Regions from separate parts of the Homo sapiens genome. Here regions 1 and 2 are each linked to region 3. Evidence: promoter capture Hi-C in 16 types of primary human blood cells and fetal thymus (Javierre and others, 2016). All regions are on one chromosome and are shown on one strand. The core of a region is centred on a gene start or on the middle of the fragment in contact, and the rest is flanking DNA. Distances in the headings are between cores, read along the strand shown. Region 1 overlaps OSGIN2 (oxidative stress induced growth inhibitor family member 2). Region 2 holds the start of TMEM64 (transmembrane protein 64). Region 3 holds the start of RBM12B-AS1 (RBM12B antisense RNA 1).

What was found. Contacts are between HindIII fragments. The CHiCAGO score rates a contact against its expected background, and 5 or more counts as called.
Region 1: a contact is called between a fragment that was not itself captured here and the fragment with the promoter of RBM12B-AS1 in region 3, in 1 of 17 cell types (neutrophils). The highest score is 6.1, in neutrophils.
Region 2: a fragment that was not itself captured here is called in contact with the fragment with the promoter of RBM12B-AS1 in region 3 in 3 of 17 cell types (total B cells, erythroblasts and total CD8 T cells); the score reaches 7.7 in total B cells.

What each region holds. Positions count from the first base shown.
Region 1 is chr8:89,910,727-89,914,965 of GRCh38, reverse strand. OSGIN2 (oxidative stress induced growth inhibitor family member 2) reads right to left here. Exons shown (of 6, transcript NM_001126111.3): 3 at 753-889; 4 at 220-411. Among named protein-coding and RNA genes, the nearest start is that of OSGIN2, 10 kb to the right of the region's middle. The HindIII fragment of the contact is 5,654 bases long and covers 1-4,239 here.
Region 2 is chr8:90,644,370-90,648,666 of GRCh38, reverse strand. It overlaps TMEM64 (transmembrane protein 64), which reads left to right and starts at 2,584. Exons shown (of 3, transcript NM_001008495.4): 1 at 2,584-3,556. The coding sequence starts at 2,762. LOC124906712 (translation initiation factor IF-2) reads right to left here and starts at 2,226. Exons shown (of 2, transcript NR_185471.1): 1 at 2,034-2,226; 2 at 1-189. RefSeq lists silencers at 2,178-2,587, 2,718-3,117 and an enhancer at 3,228-3,557. The HindIII fragment of the contact is 3,173 bases long and covers 742-3,914 here.
Region 3 is chr8:93,738,510-93,742,523 of GRCh38, reverse strand. RBM12B-AS1 (RBM12B antisense RNA 1) reads right to left here and starts at 2,413. Exons shown (of 1, transcript NR_027259.1): 1 at 1,705-2,413. RBM12B (RNA binding motif protein 12B) reads left to right here and starts at 1,515. Exons shown (of 4, transcript NM_001377960.1): 1 at 1,515-1,643; 2 at 1,828-1,895. It overlaps RBM12B-DT (RBM12B divergent transcript), which reads right to left and starts at 1,441. Exons shown (of 2, transcript NR_183450.1): 1 at 1,065-1,441. RefSeq lists an enhancer at 1,489-1,608. The HindIII fragment of the contact is 1,858 bases long and covers 1,461-3,318 here.

The sequences.
Region 1 (4,239 bases), core at 590-3,089, 3.8 Mb after region 3:
ACATGCTTATTCTAAGACTGTACCAGTAATAAAATTTGGCTTGATTTACTGCTACTTGTAATAAACCCATATTTAACTAACTGAACAGCATTAAAGTTCTTCTCAAATAAAAATGTGATAAACATCACATATAACATTATCATAATGCTTAAGAATAAAGTTGGTCTTATCAAGACAAATAATTCACATACACTAAAATGCTAAGAAAAATATACTCACATGCCAAGCCCCACCAGGTGGACCTTTACCAAGAACTACGTGAGGGATATAATGATGTTGCTCTAATTTCCAATGCAAAACGGATGGATAATCATACCCAAAGTCAGCATCTGGATGAAGAAGTGTATCGAAAAGTACTGCAACTGGATTGGATGATCGGCCCTCAAGGCCCTCAGACAAGTATTCTAAGTCCTGAATGAACAAAAGGGAGACAGAGTTTGAAAAAAGCCAGCATTTCCCAGATAGTATATTCTAATGCTTACCATGATGCTCCAATGATAAAAAGCAGTACCCCCAACTTGACCACAGAGCACCTACTAAATCTCCATTAGAAAATAATTCAGAAAACTCTGCTCTAATAAATTCAAGAAAATAAACAGAAGTAACTCAGAATACATTTACGAATCTAAAATAAAAATGATATAAGGTGTTATTTAGAATAAGGGGTTTCAACTAAGAAAGTTCATATAAATAAAAACTAATCTTGTTTCAGCATAAAAAAATTTTTTAAATTGACATGTAAGAAATAATACCTGATCAACAATGGAAAGATGTCTTGCTTCTTCTAATTTACTATTTAAGATTGTATTTGGGTGTATTGCTTCTGATGATAAATACGGTCTGTAGCCTGATAACATATAAGAAAGGCATATTCCTGAGGGTCCATTTCCTATTAAAAATAAAAGGTGGAAAGGGGTAGGTCATGCATCTTAATACTCTTGTTCCTTGGCTTTTGTCCTACTTTGAAGATGGCTCTTTTCTCTGACCAGTTCTTCCTTTTCTAATCTCTTAAAACCAGATGTTTCATGAGATTTTAACCTCTGCCTTCTCTCCTATTTTCTTTTGGGAATCTCATCTACTCAAGGCTTCAACTCTCTAGGCTACTGACATCCAAAATTAGTTCTCTAAATTGACCTATTTCCCAAGGATATATCCCACATTTCCATTCCACTTCTTGATTCTACCTGATAGAATGGCCCACTAATAACTTTAATGTAATGTGCTCAAAAGCAAGCTCATGAGTCCCTTCATTGAGGTGCCCTCTCCTTCAAACCCTATCCTATCTCAAAGTATGGTACTAGCAAACTTCTAAGTTAATCAGTTTCTGGTTCTAAACCTAGTTTGCCCCCTATATCTTGTCAGTTGTCTTTGCTATTCTCATTCCTGTACTTCACCTAAAAGACAAGTCTCCTACTGTTTCTCTGCCCTGAGATTCACCCACTCCCAATCATTTCACATACTACATTCACATAAGTTTTGGTAACATAATCCTCATCATGTTAGCCTTCTGTTCTAAAGGTCTTCATTGTTTGTTTCTGACTATCCAGTGTTCTCCATTTGAAACAACTTTTGCAAAGATTATGACAGTGAGAGAAATCTAACATGGCTGACTCCATCTTGCTTCTAGCTTCAAAGGCCGGCTGTCTTCCCTCACTCCTGGGTATAGGCAAAGCTAATCATGGAAGGAATTTATAGTTTAACCTTAAAGCAAGGATGGTAACAGTCCTTCCCAAAATTAAACCGCCTTTCTAAAACTAATGAAAGGCCACAAGGTTCGGATTATGAGAGGTGCCGGAATTCTGCTAAGATGTAGGCAGAGTTTCTATAATCCTTTACTGCTGAAGAGTCACGCAGCCAGAGGTCACATGATGTGTGACTTCCCTAATTGCTCTTACAGATAACATCGCTACTGTGGATCCTGAGGTTGGCCTTTTGAAATGTCTTTTCAGACTTTTGCATTTCTGATGACTGTCTGACTCTATTGGTCCCAAGATTCAAGACTCAGACCCAAGACTCAACTGAACCAGTCCTGCGGCCCCCCACCCAGAGTTGGACTCAGTGCTAGAGAACCATTTTTGATACCCCCAGCATGGCATCCCCAACCAATCAGCAGCACCTATTCCCTAGTCCCCTGTTCACCCAACTATCCTTGAAAAACCCTAACCTCCAAGCCATCAGGAGGGATCAGGAGTTTTGTTTTTTTCGTTGTGTTTTTTTTTTTCAGACAGAGTCTCGCTGTGTCACCAGGCTGGAGTGCAGTGGCATGATCTCGGCTCACTGCAACCTCTGCCTCCTGGGTTCAAGCGATTCTCCTGCCTCAGCCTCCCAAGTAGCTAGGACTAGAGGTACACGACACCACACCCAGCTTATTTTTGTATTTTTAGTAGAGACGGGGTTTCAGCGTGTTGGCCAGGACAGTCTTGATCTCTTGATCCACCCACCACAGCCTCCCCAAGTGCTGGGATTACAAGTATGAGCCATCACGCCCAACCAATCAGGAGTTTTATCAGGAGACTAATTTGAACAACTGCAGTTCTCTCACATGGGCTGGCCTTGTGTCAACTTCTTTACTGCAACGCCATGGTCTCAGTGAAATGGTTTTGTCTGTGCAGCAGGCAAGAAACTGCCAGGTGATTATACATCTCAACCATCTTTCCAGTCCTAAATCCTGATATTGCTTTCCTATATGTTTATATGCTTTAACTAAAACCAAACTGGATTTCCTGAACTACTTCCATTTATGAATTAATAATTCCTTTATTCTGGATTACCACTTATTATATCTGCCTTTCAAAAATTTAATCCAACCTAGAGAATTGCTAGCTGCAAAGAAAAAATCCTGTTCCTTACCTAATATGTTACCCCAAATAAAATATACTCAAAGATATAAGAAAAGTAAAACCATAAGAATACTAGAAACAGAGAAAGCAGAGAAAGATTTCAACTTATAATTCTAGAATAGGAAGCCTTAAAGACTGAAAGAAAAATAAAAAATATTTAGAACTAATTTTATATCTTTTTTTTTTTTGAGACGGAGTCTCGCTCTGTCGCCCAAGCTGGAGTACAGTGGTGCGATCTCGGCTCATTGCAACCTCTGCCTCACGGGTTCACACCATTCTCCTGCCTCAGCCTCCCGAGAAGCTGGGACTGACTACAGGCACTCGCCACCATGCCTGGCTAATTTTTTGTATTTTTAGTAGAGACAAGGTTTCACCCTGTTAGCCAGGATGGTCTCGATCTCCTGACCTTGTTATATGCCCGCCTCAGCCTCTCAAAGTGCTGGGATTACAGGTGTGAGCTACCAGGCCTGGCCCTCTTTTCTTTTTTTTTTTTTTTTTAGACAGAGTTTCACTTGTCGCCCAAGCTGGAGTACAATGGCGCAATCGCGGCTCACTGCAACCTCCACCTCCTGGGTTCAGGCGATCCTCCTGCCTCAGCCTCCCAAGTAGCTAGGATTACAGTTGCCCGCCACCATGCCCGGCTAATTTTTGTATTTTTAGTAGAGACGGGGTTTCACCATGTTGGCCAGGCTGGTCTCGAACTCCTGTGCTCAGATGATCCAGCCCACCTCAGCCTCCCAAAGTTCTGGGATAACAGGCGTGATCCACTGTGCCCAGAGATGTCCCAGTCCTATCCCCTAGAACCTGTAAATGTTACTACAGAGCAAAAGGACTCTGTAGATATGATTAAGGATCCTGAGATGGAGAGTAGTCTAGATTACCCAGGTAGACCCAATCTAATCACAAGAGTCCTTAAAAATAGAGAACTTTTCCCAGTTGTGGTGAAAGGGAGACATGACAATGAAAGAAGGTTAAGAAACAACATTGCTGATTTTGAAGCTACAGAAGGGAGCCAGGAAAAGGAAACATTCTTCCCTAGAGCCTCCAGAAAGCAACACAGCCCTGCCAACACCTTGATTTTGGCCCAGGAAGACCCATGTTGAATTTCTGACCCACAGAACAGTAGAATAATACATTCACATTGTTTAAAGCCACTAGTTTTGTGGTAATTTGTTACAGCGGCAACAGAAAACATATATTTAAGAAATTAGCTCTTTATGCTCAGGCTGGTGGTGCCATTGTCAACAGTAATGACACTATATAAATATACATGAGGCTAAGCTACTCACAGCTAGCTGAGGCAAAACAGGGATAGGCTGCTTTGTGGGAAGTGGAGTGGGCAGGTGCAAATGAAGGTTAAGTTTTTCTTTTCTGACCTTCCCACAGCCTAGCCACACAA
Region 2 (4,297 bases), core at 1,079-3,578, 3.1 Mb after region 3:
CCCTCCAATACCAAGGCTGATCGTGCATATGCTCTCTGGAACACTGATGATTGCCATGGCAAAGAGAAAAAGAGTTCTGGAAGGTCTTGCATCAACAATTAAATGCTATGCTCACACTTAATTCGGAGAACATGTCATGTAGTTCAACCCCATCACAGGGAGGCCAGGGCATACAATCCTCCTATATTCCTGTAAGAGAACAGGAAATATTTGGCACACCTATCACCACGCACTCATTCATAAACATGGTCTTAATTGCTGCCCATATACCAATGTCAAAATTTCTAGGAGAGATGCCCCACTTAATTCCCTATCTATATTTTCAACCATCTACTGGAATACCACGTTTGGATGTTATCATAGGCACCTCAAGTCTCATGCATCAAGACTGAAGGCTATCTTTCTTACAGACTTGCTGTAGTCGCTTTCTTGGTCAATGGCCCCATTATCTATTACTTTAAATAAGAAATCCAGGTGTTATCCTTGACCTCTCCCTCTCTTCTGAAAACAAATCAGTTGCCCAGCTCCTCTTTAAACTTATCCCCATTCAACTAACACCAGGACCATTATCCTACTTCACTGATCCTCACAGCTTCTTGCCTATGCAATTTTGTCTGGTTTTCCTGCCTTCATTTCCCCCTACAAATGGCAATCATTTGTGTAAGCAACAAACATTTAAAGAGGGCTCATTGCTCCTTAGATTAAATAAGTAACGGGCCCATCTTGAAGAAACTCAAAGCTTAAAGAGGGAGACAGTGATGTAAACAAAAAATTACAATACAACGGGACAAATGTGATAATGGCCATACAGAAAGTAGCCTGGGAAAGGAAAGGAAATACCAAATTGAGGGTGATGGTGAAGGGAAGGTAGTGCAGGACTGATATGGTTTGGATTTGTGTCCCTGCCCAAATCTCATGTCAAACTGTATGTAATCCCCATTGTTGGAGGAGAGGCCTGGTGGGAGGTGATTGGATCATGGAAATGGAGTTCTCATGAATGGTTTAGCACTATCCCTCCTTGGTACTGTTTTACGGAAGTAAAACTTTAGGTAAATGCTGTGGCAGCAGTAAGAGCTGCTCCTCCGTGTGAGTCACAAGGCTTGGAAAAGAGAGTTGAAGGATGTAGCACTTGCCTGGCACCTAGTAGGGACTCTACCTGACTCAGCCCAACCAGGGTGGATAGGAGGGAATGGCATGGAGGAGCCTGATCAGCCAGCAAGCAGGAGCCTGATCAGCAACGACCTAAGGTGTCCTGGTCCGTTATCTGGCAGGCAACTGGGTGGAAGGTCATCCACTGAGATATGAAACCCAGAAGGAAGAGTCGGTCTATGGGGGATCACACTTTTAATGAGGGATACCATCACATAGTTAACATTTACTGACGACTGATTTCAGGCATAGTGCTAATCACCTTACTTTACTATTTTGTTTAATCCTCACAACACTCTTACGAAGCTAAGTTGTACCATTATCTCCATTTTGCAATTTAAAAAGAAACAATGAGATTCAGGGACTGATTGTTTGACCAGTTACTAAACGTGATTTGCACCAGAGCCCAAGTTGATCATCTATCTACCAAGCTCTGCTGAGTTTGAGCTGCCTGCAGAATTCCACCTGGATGTGTCCACAGGCCGGACCACAAGCTGGGAAGTGTGGGCAGAGACATTCACTTAGGGGTCACTTCTTATGGGGGGCACGGCAGGATCAAAGCTGTTGGGCCTGGATGAGATGGCTCAGGAAACTCTGAAAAGGAAGACGGCAAGAGGACCTGGGGAACACTAACCTTAAACAGGCGGAAAGAGGAAAAGAAACCAGCGAATGAGTTTGAGAAGCTGCCCTCTGAGAAAGCGAACTCTTAAAAATGTCCTTCAGTGAATCTTTTTCAAATGCCCCTAGACCAATGCCTGGCACTCGATAAAGGACCTCTGGAGTCAGAAGGGGCGTTCTGTCAAGGGGGTGGGGGGACTTTATGCCTAATTTTTCCAGCTCCTAAAGGACCAAGCCATATGAAACCCACAGGGAGACCTCGATACCTGGGAGGCAAGTCTGAGACAAGAATAGGGTCAAGGACCATAGCCAAACCCTCCTCAGAACACAAGAACTCTTTCCCCCATTCGACAGGGCAGCGGCGGATGTGAGCGCCACTCACAGCTGCCCGCTCTGATAAGAGGTTACTGCGGAAACGACCAGGAGGGAACGGGCGAGGATCCAAGCCGCTCACGGACTGGGGTCGCCTCGGTCCGAGAGGGGGAGCGCGCGCCCTGACACGCAGGCATGCGCGCGCCTGTGGGAAGTCGGGGAGCGCGCCTGGGCCCCTGCCCGTCGCCCGGCTCTCCCCTCGTTGCAGCCTCGCTCTCCCTAGAGCTCCTTCTCCCCTCCCAGTGGTTTCCCTCCGCAGCTGTGGGCCTCCGCTGGCCCACGCGGACGCCCCGCGACCCCCGCAGCCTGGCGGGCAGCGCGTCACGGGAGCGGACCAGAACACAGCCCGCTCCGCCCCATCGCCCGCGGCCCCGCCCCCTCTGGCCGACAAGGGGCGGGCACCACCGGAGTGGGCTCCGTGGGTGCTGGGGCAGGAGTTTCCTCACTCCCCGCCTGGCCGTCGCTCCTCCGCTGACTCCGCGCCCTTCTACGGGCCGTCTCCCACCCTCTGAGCGGACGCAGGGAGTCGATGCCGGGCGAACCGGGCGCCATGAAGGGCAGCTGCCTAACGGGCGCCGCGGCGGAGGGGCTGGCCGGCTGAGGGCCCGCGCTGGGCCGAGGCATGCGGAGCCCGGGCGGGATCCTGCTCCAGGCGCTGCCCCGGCTGCTGCAGCACGCCGCCCTCCCGGGCCTCGCCGAGCTGCCGGCCCGCTGGGCCCTGCCGCGGGGTGCGGGCGGGGACGGCCCGGCGGACCGCCTTCCCCGCGGGGGCGGGGCGAGCGCGGCGGCGGCAGCAGCGGCGGCCTCGGGCGCCCTGCTCGGCGCCTATCTGGAGCGCCACGGTCCGCCCGAGGCTTCGGAGCTGCCGGAGCCGGGCGGGGCCTTGGCGGGCGGCCCCGGGAGTGGCGGCGGCGGCGTGGTGGTCGGCGTGGCTGAGGTGAGAAACTGGCGCTGCTGCTGCCTCGGCAGCACCTGTTGGTGCCGGAGCCTCGTGCTGGTCTGCGTGTTGGCCGCCCTGTGCTTCGCTTCCCTGGCCCTGGTCCGCCGCTACCTTCACCACCTCCTGCTGTGGGTGGAGAGCCTTGACTCGCTGCTGGGGGTCCTGCTCTTCGTCGTGGGCTTCATCGTGGTCTCTTTCCCCTGCGGCTGGGGCTACATCGTGCTCAACGTGGCCGCTGGCTACCTGTACGGCTTCGTGCTGGGCATGGGTCTGATGATGGTGGGCGTCCTCATCGGCACCTTCATCGCCCATGTGGTCTGCAAGCGGCTCCTCACCGCCTGGGTGGCCGCCAGGATCCAGAGCAGCGAGAAGCTGAGCGCGGTTATTCGCGTAGTGGAGGGAGGAAGCGGCCTGAAAGTGGTGGCGCTGGCCAGACTGACACCCATACCTTTTGGGCTTCAGAATGCAGTGTTTTCGGTAAGTGGGGTCCCGCTGGCCTATCCCTCTCCAAGTCTGTTTTTGAGCGGTCTTGTGGCGGCCCTAGGAGGGCGCTCTATCAGATAAATACCAGCAGAGAAGTGACATTGACGGCAGGAGTTACGATTACTTTCCATCGCAGCCTGGGAAGTCTGTCCTACACATAAAACATACCTAACGCGGAGCCTCGAAAGAGAGTTTGTTAGATAAAAAACTAATGTTTCTTTTAGGGATGGGAATGTAATTAAAAATGAAAAGCCCTCTTAACAATAGGCATGCAGGGACATGAATGGAAATGCCCATCTTTAATACTTGTCATCTTTTGTAGCAGCTTTGGCAACATTTAGGGAGGAAAGCTTTCTCTCTTGCTTACATAAATACATCCAGGGTTTTGATTCAAGTTTTTAGCGACATGGACCAAAGGAAGTGTTTCAGTAAACAGTGGAGGAGCTAGTTGCAGACTCCAGATTTTGGAGTTTGCTAAATTTGAAATGGGCTTTTTCTTCTTCAAGTAATTGTGCTTTAATGTGATGTAAAGAAGAAAATCCTACTGTTTATCTTTCTTTCTTTGGAGGAACTTCATTTCGAAATCACGGGGTGGTGAATAAAACAGAACAGATAATCTTTTGCTCAGTTAGCATATATTTTTCTTCTGTATCTGCACCATTATAGACTCTTTTCTGTCCTTGTATTCATATGTTTTGCTTACTCAGGTTTCTATAGCTAGTGTGCATCTCCATG
Region 3 (4,014 bases), core at 1,164-3,663:
TTAAGGTCCTGTTCCTGAGACTGCAAGGCCAGGACCAAACTATGGATTATCAAGGTAAATGATATCTAGTCAATGAGCCTACCTCCTCAGAGTGACATCCTCTGCTTCTGTATAGATCACCTTGACATTTCAAACAAGTCACAAATACTTATAATAGTCTCACTTATTTACATATATCTGAGACATACATATTTACTGAATGTTTCCCACAACCCTAAGAGGTAGGTACTAGGAGTATCCCCATTTTACAGATGAAGAAACTGAGGCACAGAGGGGCTAAATAATTTGTCCAGTGAGTAAAAGATGGCTCTGATTTTGTGTTAACTATCTTTTTATTTACTTATTAAACTACCTCTTCTTTCTTATAATCATATCATTAAAGAATGGGTATTTTGCAGTGAGAAAGGGATCCACAACTCACTTTTTCTGTCATCTGTAACAATGTTTTTAAAATGTACTTTCTGCTTAATGAGCTTTGAATCCATCCACAAATACATCAAGTAGCTATACAACGTGGTGGGAAACTTTGTTATTTGCAAATGATAAAACCAAACACAAGGTTGTTCACCAGCTATTACGTAGCAGGCATCACAGAGTACACCTGTAATAGTGCTTTTCCATTACTGAAATTTCAGTACTGGCTCATCTGTTCTCTTGTTTCAAAAATCCAGAAGATGGGAACAAATTTATAAAGACACTTCACAAGGTTATTTATATCTATAAAACCGACTAAGCATGCATTTATTAAGCCCCCAGGTGTTGGGATTGTACTTGGCGAACATCTAAGGCAGTAAAATTACCTTTTCTGTGGTATTCTAGGGTCTACAGGAGCTTTTTTATTTTTGTTTTGAGATGGAGTTTCACTCTTTTGACCTGGCTGGAGTGCAGCGGTGCGATCTCGGCTCACTACAGCCTCCATCTCTCGGGTTCAAGCGATTCTCCTGCCTCAGCCTCCCGAGTAGCTGGGATTACAGGCGCCCGCCACCATGCCAGGCTGACTTTTTTGTATTTTTAGTAGAGACGGGGGTTTCGCTTTTTGGGCGGGCTGGTCTCGAACTACTGACCTCAAGTGATTCGCCCGCTTCGGCCTCCCAAAGTGCTGGGATTACAGACGTGAGCCACCGTGCCCGGCCACAGGAGCTTTTTAGAAGATGTTTTACGCCACACAGTAATGCAACACTGAAAAGACAAGTCGCCTTTTCTCTGCTTTTGCATCTCTTTCCTTAACTTCTGGAAATCTTTAAAGTTTGTCCGCCGTACTTCGACAGTTGTCTACCGAAGATTCTCAGCACATCTACCGGCTGAGCCCTGAATGTGTCTCTGAATTTCTCCCGTTGAAAGTCGAGGTCCCTGGGCTGGGCAGAATCTGGGCATGCGCAGAAGCTCAGCCAACCCCGGGGCTCCGCCTCCCCTCCTCTAGCGAGGGGAAACGGGTGAGCGGCAGCGCGCGTGCGCAAGCTTGGTGGTGGGTTGCGCCTGCAGAGCGCATGGGCAGATAAACCGTACGTCCGTTTGTCCGGACCGGAGGGGCAGTGGGCGCCATCTTCTTCTGGGCTCACTGAGGGTCTACCTGTTTTGGGGAGGCTGCTGCGACGAAGAGTTCCCTCAGCCTCCGGCCTTGTGTGTCCGACTCGGCAGCAGTGGTGTGTGTTTATTGCCAAGTGCGAAGCAGTTCCCCTCGGGGCGCCGGGGGTGGGGAGGGCTGGGCGACCAAGCCGGAAGAACGGGGAAAGGCGGGACCGGCGGCCGCGCCAGTATCTAGCGTAGCTCCTGCCGTTAGGGCACCCTCTTTTCTTGCTAAAACACCGACTCTTCCTTTCCCGTCAGCTTCCATGTGGTGGTGTATGTGCGCTTCCCAGGGATCTTGAGAGTGAAGATCTCGAAGGATTTCATAGGTATATTTTTTTCTTTGCTATGTCATCGTAGTCAGTGGTGGCAGAAAAGCGCTGCAGGCCCAGCTCGTTAGGCTTGAGAAGGGCAAGTGTTTTCAGTTAGATCTGGGGGCAGTTCACCCTCTGGCGAGTTAGGGTGGAATGTTTGCCCTTGAGACGGCGTAACGGAAAGGCACGGAGGTTGGGCGGTCCAGGTTAATTTGAAGGCTGATTTTGGCTGAAAGTCTGGCGACAACATCGGATCCCACGTAGCAACTTTGGCCTGGCGCGAAAGAAGGAAGCTCTGACCCCTGGGAGTTGTGGACAAAGGCTTTGGGCTGTAGAATCGATGCCTTCGGATGATTCCCGTTTGAGGATGTTGGGAGAAATCCTGTGCCATGTGGATTCGTCTTCATTTACAGTTCTTCCTAGGGACTGTGGCTCTCATTGGTCATTCCTTTGGTTTTTATTTTAAACATCTACATTATAAAAGGTGGATCATCGTAAAGAATAATTATGGGTTGGTGTAGATTATTTTCTGCAGGGGAAACTCACGTTTAGAGTGTGAATATGCTACATCATGACCTTGGGCTTTACGAAGTAGTCGCAGAGTTAAAAAAAATTCTCTCCCTCACCATATCTGGAAAATGACTTTTTCTTCGCTAGTTAAAAATCAAATGGATCTGATGAGATATTACTTATTTAAATTCTGTCTCCCTCCCGTTTCCCTCTCTGTATCCCCTTAAGTCTTGATTAGAAGAGGCACGTTACGTATTGTTTAGTTATAATGGTGATTAAGTGGGATGAATCGTTGGATAAAAATAGCAGTTATTTAAAATGCGCTTTAAATTTCACTGACTTAAGTGATCTTTTAGGGACCCACTCTTCTTTTCATAGAAATTTTAACAGATTATTGTCTTCAAATGAACACAAAGGCACAAAAATACTTTTTGCATTCATAACTAGAAAAACGCAAAATTTTAATTGCAGACTACTTGAGGGTAATTTTCGTGTTTTGCTTTTGTGTAATTTAGTGTGTTAAGAGTTGAATTTCTGGAGAATTTGCTTAAGGAAATATAGCATGTTGGAACCACAGAAGTGCCCATTTTGAGAGCTGGTCTCTTACAGTTGGTCTCCAAGGTGTGTTATTGTAGAGGCATAAATGGTACATTACCCTACTGTCTCAAGGGTAGAGAAGTTTAAGCATTAGTTTTGTTTAACTGTGGCAAATGAGAATAAACTTTCTAAATAGTCTGCTTGAATTGGAATTCATGAGATTTGTGCTCATGAAACTACTTGGTTAAAAGATAGTTTTTAAGTGAGGTAGGATAAATTACTAGAGTTTTTTTGAATTTGAGATATAATTATTCCTTGAAACGTCTCTAATTTCTCTTGTAGATGAATTTATGTTCCCAGGGTAAATCCCGTTAAAATTTTTTTAAAAGCTTAGGAGAGACAAGAATATGTATAGCTTATGGTGCTTTCTAAAATATCTTAAAAAGAGTAGCTAAGCCAATTTGCATAGGAGGGAGTCTTGGGACTTTAATATGGATAAAGTAAGTATTCCAGAAGCCATTTGTAGTTTTTGTTGAAGTGTTAGTATGGATATTGGTTTGTTGAAGAAAATAGGCTTTTTTTCTTTTTTTGTTACTGTGCAAATACTTTAATAGCAAACCTGATTAATATTTTTCAGATGTAGAATGTGTGAAGTAATTTGATGTCTTTGCTAGTTTAGCTTCTGGTTAATCTACGTACCCTTTTTTAAAGGAAAACAGACCTCAGTGAATGTATCTTCAGACCCCCACTTTGGGGAACAGTGGTACTTAAGTGTAAGTACTGGATTCTGGATTAACGCAACATTTATTTGTACATTAAAGACATGTAAATTACTCCAGGCGCAGTGGCTCATACCTGTAAATCCTAGCACTGTGGGAGGCTGAGGTGAGCTGATTGCTTGAGCCCATGAGTTCCCTACCAGCCTGGGCAACATGGTGAAACCCTGGCTCTACAAAAAATACAAAAATTAGCCGGGTGTGGTGGTGCACACCTGTAGTCCCAGCTACTGGGGAGGCTGAGGTGGGAGCATTGCCTGAGCCTGGGTAAGTCGAGGCTGTAGTGAGCCAAGATCGCACCAGTGCACTCC